2 separate regions of the Homo sapiens genome follow, and region 2 is linked to region 1. Evidence: promoter capture Hi-C in 16 types of primary human blood cells and fetal thymus (Javierre and others, 2016). All regions are on one chromosome and are shown on one strand. The core of a region is centred on a gene start or on the middle of the fragment in contact, and the rest is flanking DNA. Distances in the headings are between cores, read along the strand shown.

Region 1 (3,153 bases), core at 199-2,698:
CTATTTAAACTGGACTTATTTCTCACTTCACAGCTCTGGCCTGGGCTGAGACCTCCCCAACAGAGCTTATTAGCGAGCTTGTCATCTTGCTCTGTGGCTATCTAGGTCTGGAGTCAAGAGCCATTCACAGGAAAATCAGCATGAAACCTTTAAGTTTGCATATTAAATATTAACACCACTAAGGGCTACAGTGGAAAAGAGGTTTGCTGAGCTCAAGGGCCCTCACTCCACCCCCAACTTCCCTTGGCTTTTCTCTTCTATGTTGTGTTCCTGGTAAATCCCATTATGTCTCGACTACCTTAGGCCCTCTCAGCCCCTTCTTGGGAATTAGGCTCTCTGGATAGGCAAAGAGGCAGATACCCAGCTGCCAGGTGAATCAGATGTCCTCATCAGATCTCTTAATTTCCACTTTGGTGATATTTCAAAGGATCACAAATTATGTTCTTAGTGCCTGGTCAGAGAACTGGGAAAGAGCTGGAAGATGAGACACCAAACTCCATCCCATGGTGATGTTTGAACCAGGCTGGAGCTGGTTTCACATGTTTTTCATTGTGCATGACTTTCTTAATTGCCTTAGTGGGAATGCGTTACTGCAAAATAAAGTGAAATTGTTTTCCTTATTGCTTGTAATTTACAGAGGGGTGGTTTTGATCATATAAACCAGGCACTTTTCAAATCCATTGATCTTAGGGTGGAAGGAGGGATTTCTTTTTAAGTATTCATTTCGAACTATGCTTTCACTAGTAAACTCAAAGCCCAAGGGCAAAAACCCATGATTCTCCATTTTGTAATAGCTATTAGATGTCCACAGCACATCAGACCTGTGGAAAACGCATGCTTTGTGTATGGAAGAGGGAGAGGGAGCGTCAGGAGTTGTCCTTTGCCAAAAAACGTACTCTGACACTCAAAGGCACAGGCTGGTGGAGATCCAGGGAACCCGGGAAAGCCCAGGCCTAACTCAGGCCCGCGCGGGTCTCTTCTGATCCCATAAGATGAGGAGTGGGTCCTGGCTCTGGGCATCCTGGTGTCGACTGTGAGTTCCCAGCAGAGGCCCAGAGTCCCGGTCCGGCAGCCGAGGGAAGCGGGGGGGTCTTCCAGAAGAAGAAAGGGCCAAGGTCACCCCGGTGCCTCTCCAGCAGCAGCAGAGGGCGGCGGTCGGTGTCGCTGCTGGCCGGGGCCTCGAGGAAGGCGCGGGCCAGCTGGGGCCGGGTCTGCGTTCCCAGGAGCTGCCACCGTTCCAGGGAGCAAGTCAGGCCGGGACGTAGCGCCTGCGCGGGACCCTCACTTGCCACCAAGACCCCCACAAACCCCGCCCCATCCTGCCTTACGCCCCGCCCCAAGGTCGTTCTCCCGACCCGGGGTCCCGCCCCAAGGCCGTCCTCCCGCCCCGCCGCTTGGTGGCGGCCGCATGCTGCCCGGATATAAAGGGTCGGCCCCACATCCCAGGGACCAGCGAGCGGCCTTGAGAGGCTCTGGCTCTTGCTTCTTAGGCGGCCCGAGGACGCCATGGCCGAGTGCCCGACACTCGGGGAGGCAGTCACCGACCACCCGGACCGCCTGTGGGCCTGGGAGAAGTTCGTGTATTTGGACGAGAAGCAGCACGCCTGGCTGCCCTTAACCATCGAGGTACAGCCAGCTTTGGAGCGGATGGCGAGGCAGCAGGGGCAGCCCCTGGGAGCTTGGGATGCCCTAGGAAGGGCGAGGACTCAAGGAGCACTCACTATGGGGCAGGGAGGATCCCCACAGATGAAGCCACTTTGAGCCGGGCTCTGGAGGATGAATAGGAGTTCTCCAGGCAGGGAAGAAGGGTGGGAAAACCGCAAAGGAATGTCGGTCAAAGGGGTGGACCCAGTGCCTGTGGAGTGTGACTATAATGTTGACTACAGCAGGCATTTTCTGGGCTTCGGGGTCCTAATCCTTAAAAATGGGTATCTCTAAGTGACTCATCCATATGGCCGATTATCGGAATCATCTCAGGTGGGTCCCAGAAATCTGTATTTTTAAAAAGAACCCTCAACAGTTTAGGGTCAACCAGGCATAGCAAACACTGGCCTAGAGTGTGAAGTATTTTCCACTACCTCTGGGCTTTATTTAGAAAACAAATTTAACAAGTGATGTCGTAGTATAAGCGCCGGTATTGAATCAATATTGACTTTTTTAATGTGTGATGCCTTAAGATGGGTCCTTAATCCATGTTAAGTTTTTGTTAAAGAAATAGATAAGTCTTTTACAAGTATTTGGATTTACTCAATGAAAAAGAGTCAAAAAATGTTCAAACTCTCTCCAAACATACACTGAAGAAAGCATAAAAATTAAAAAATATATTAGAACACGTATGTCCAGTAGCAATCAAAAATTATTGAGTGTTGACTGTGTCTCTACAGATGGGAAACTGAGGCACAAAAATGTACATTTGTCCGAGGTAAGATTGCTAGTAGGTAATGGGGTTGGAATTCTAGGCTCTTAACCACCACAAAATCTGCATTTTTATTGGCATTTCAATTTTTTAAATATGTTTTTACTTTAAAAATCAAGTTAAATACTTACTTTTTTAAAATCAAAATTTGAAGAAATAATTTGAAGATTCAGTGGATTTCTTTTTTTAAATCTCTGAGAAATCTCTTCTTCAACGTGACACCAAAACCACGAACCAGACAGTTTTTCATAAAATCATGATACATGCTCCACAAAAAATAACCCACTAGCAAACTGTGGGACAGATTTTGCCTCACATCATTGAAAAGGCCAGTATTCTTTTTCTCTCTTTCTTTCTTTGTTGTTTTTTTTTTTTCCTGTAGATACAGGGTCTCGCTCTGTGACCCAGGCTGGTCTTAAACTCCTGGCCTCAAGCGATCCTCCTGCCTCTGCCTTCCAAAGCACTGGAATTACAAGTGTGAGCCGCTGCAACCCGCCAGAAAAAAGTGTGCCTTTCATGGCCCTGTCTGGGTGGCTAGACACGTGTGTGTGCTGGTGGTCCTGGCCCAGCCAGAGTCCCTGAGAGGAGCATGCATGGCCTAAGGAAGTGAGCTTCAGGGAACAGTGATGACCATCATTTCACACTCGGACCCCTGCCCAGATGGGTGGATGGCTGGCAGGAGGGATTCCGGTTTTCTGCGCCTGGAGAAGCCCTGGCAAGCGGAACCTGAAAGTATG
Region 2 (3,222 bases), core at 320-2,819, 140 kb after region 1:
CTACAAGGGAGCTGAGGAATGGAGTCTCTATTCTGGACTGCCCTGTGCCTGGCAAAAACCTATTATACAAAAAGGGAAAGGAAGAATGTTGAGGGACTTCACCACAAAGAGGCTAAATAATTCACCTAAGGCTCCAGAGGCAAAAAGTGCCAGAGCTTGGTTTCGAATCCAAGCAGTCTGGCTGAAGAGTCTCCCCTCTGAGCCATTCCTTTCTGCTAGGGTTGGCAATCTATGGTCTGTGGGCCAAATTCAACACACTGAGTGTTTTTGTAAATGTTTATTTGAACACAGCCATGCCCATTTGTTTACGTATTGGCTATGGCTGTTTTTGCACTATACAAGCAAAGTTGAGGCTGGGCACAGTGGCTCACGCCTGTAATCACAGCACTTTGGGAGGCCAAGGTGGGAATAGCACTTGAGCTCAGGAGTTTGAGACCAGCCTAGACAACATAGCAAAACCCCATCTCTACTAAAAATACAAAAATTAGTCAGACGTGGTGGCACATGCCTGTAATCCCAGCTACTTGGGTGGCTGAGGCAGGAGAGTTGCTTGAACCTGGGAGGCAGAGGCTGCAGTAAGCTGAGATCACGCCACTGCACTCCAGCCTGGGTGAGAGAGTGAGACTCTGTCTCCAAAAAAACAAAGAAAAAAAGAAAAGAAAAAGAATGTTGAATAGTTGCAATAGAGAACGTATGGCCAGCAAAGCTGAAAATATTTATGCTTTTATGCTTTACAGAAAAAGCTTCCAACTCCTGTACCATATTGACTACATTAGAGGAGATAAAATATGTAAAATGATTGGCACAGTTTCTGACCCAGAACAAATACTCAAAAAATACTATTCATGTTGCTGTTATTATATAACTGATAAAATTGGCATTGGCGTTAGAATCAGCACCAGCATCAGATCAGCATCACTATCAGCGTCTCACCAGACTGCCTTTCAAAGGAGAAGCAGAAATCCCACTGCCAGGGTGAGGCTGATGGAGAGATGAGCAAATCCTCCCAGAGTCCTCAGCAAGTTATTTTCCCTTTGCCAGGTGCCAGCAGAGAGGTGAGGCTGGTGACCACTGGCTCTCAGAAGGTGAAAGCGGAAGCATCTCCTGCCAAACGCCGCCCATGTTTTGCAGGGCTGAGGACAGGCTGAAATTGCGGCTATTTTTCAATGCCTTGAATGTGTGTAGGTGAGCATAAATTAAAAAGAAAATCTGTTGACAAAATGATTCTAAAGTTCATCGGGAAGAGGAAGCTGGAAAGATAACCAAGAAAAGTTAGAAAAAAGAAATGAAGCCTGGGTGCGGTGGCTCATGCCTGTAATCCTGGCACTTTGGGAGGCCGAGGCGGGCAGATCACTTGAGGTCAGGAGTGCAAGACCAGCCTGGCCAACATGGTGAAACCCTGTCTCTACTAAAAATACAAAAATTAGTCTGGTGTGGTGGTGCCTACCTATAATCCTAGCCCTTTGGGAGGCCGAGGTGGGTGTATCACTTGAGGTCAGCCTGGCCAACATGGTGATACCCTGTCTCCACTAAAAATACAAAAATTAGCCAGGTGTGATGGCAGATGCCTGTAATCCCGGCTACCAGTTACTTGGGAGGCTGAGGCAGGAGAATGGCTTGAACACGGGAGGTTGCAGTGAGCTGAGATCGCGCCACTTCACTCCAGCCTGGGCAACATAGCAAGACTCCATCTCAAAAACAAACAATCTAACAACAACAACAACAAAAATGAAAAACATGAAAGAGGAAAGATACTCTGCCAGGATTTTTAGATTATGGTATCTCATTTAATCCTTACAGTAACTCCATCAGGGAGAGACTGTTATTAAACCCACTTTAGAGATGAGAAGGCAGAGATTCAGAGATGACAAAGAATCTCCAAGGATTATAGATTTAGGTACATCTATATCTATACATATACCTATACCTATGCCTACACCTAAATCTATGCTCACACCTGTACCTAGATAAATGGTTTGAGAATGCATTTGATTGCAGGTGTTTTTTTCAATCAGATCCTAGATCTCTGCCTTCCGCCTGATGCCTCCGGAAACGCTGGTCCCCTGGGAAATGCCATGAAAGTGGTTAGTGTGATTACCTCAGTTTGCTAAGAAAACCCATCATACTGCCAGCACACTGTGATCTCTGGCTATCAAAAATGGTTGATTTGAAGACACCTGTATTTTTTTGGAAATGTTGATATTTAACAAATAACCCCCAGCCCCCTAAATGTTGATATTTAGAAAATAATTCCCCAAACTTATTTTACACACATACAGTGAGATAGAGAGAGAGAGGAGAGAGAGAGAGAGAGAGAGAGAGAGAGAAGAGAGAGAGAAAAGTTGTTTAATGCCCAGGATCAAGAAGGCCTGCATATATTCAGCAAGAAGCTTTATCATCCCAAACCCGAGGCTGAGCCATGATTATTACATTCTAAGCCTCTTCTTCTCCCTGCTATTTATTACTAGGGCTTAGAGAATCTCAAACTGTTGGGTCAGTTATATGATCCAAATGGCAGGACTGATCAAAGACTCCTACAACCTGTATGCTAATTAAAATCTATTTCACACACCAGTGGTGATTAGAAACTGCAAGGGCTTCCAAGCCCCTCTCACATGACTAGACTTGATGAATAATTCCTGATAGTGGCTAATAGCACTTGGCCCCCACAGTCTGCATACTAGATGGGTTTCAAGTCATCTTAAAAAAAGATGCCGGGGTTTATCTCTTAGAATTTCTCTCCCCACTCCCCACTGTGACCACACAAATGGAAACACCACTCCATTGCACGTGCATTTGTACAGTGTTGATGAACTCTGTCATTAGGCCAAGGAACCCTAGGCAATAGAAAAGTGTGAAACCCACCCATAACTGGCCCAGGGAATGCCAGCTCCGAGGCCACGGTGCAGAAAGTTGGACTTTATACTCAGCTTCTGCTTCTCCCTTATCTCAACATCTCCAATTCTATCTTTTAATTATGTCTCACACCCTTTGTCTTCACCACCACAGTCATCATTACACTCAAATAACTTAAATGCATGGCAGAGTAGGAAAAGTAGAATAAGTAACATCTTAGGTATTCAATTTGCTTGATATCTCCGATGTGCTAAGTACATTATATATAAGCTCTCTTTTTATTCTTTTCACAACTCTATAGGCAGAAAGATATTATTACCACCATATTACAGATGGTGAAACTGAGCCTCAGAGATGTGAAATAAC

Evidence for each region. The method cuts DNA at HindIII sites, captures the fragments that hold promoters and counts their contacts. A CHiCAGO score of 5 or more calls a contact.
Region 2: a fragment that was not itself captured here is called in contact with the fragment with the promoter of TCL1A in region 1 in 1 of 17 cell types (naive B cells); the score reaches 5.3 in naive B cells.

The regions. Positions count from the first base shown.
Region 1 is chr14:95,712,420-95,715,572 of GRCh38, reverse strand. It overlaps TCL1A (TCL1 family AKT coactivator A), which reads left to right and starts at 1,448. Exons shown (of 4, transcript NM_021966.3): 1 at 1,448-1,626. The coding sequence starts at 1,507. It overlaps LOC107984703 (a long non-coding RNA gene), which reads right to left and starts at 90. Exons shown (of 3, transcript NR_148060.1): 1 at 1-90. RefSeq lists a silencer at 1,194-1,433 and enhancers at 1,664-1,713, 2,828-3,047, 3,088-3,153. The HindIII fragment of the contact is 7,267 bases long and covers 1-3,153 here.
Region 2 is chr14:95,568,483-95,571,704 of GRCh38, reverse strand. No RefSeq gene overlaps it. Among named protein-coding and RNA genes, the nearest start is that of LINC02318, 3.5 kb to the left of the region's middle. The HindIII fragment of the contact is 1,647 bases long and covers 746-2,392 here.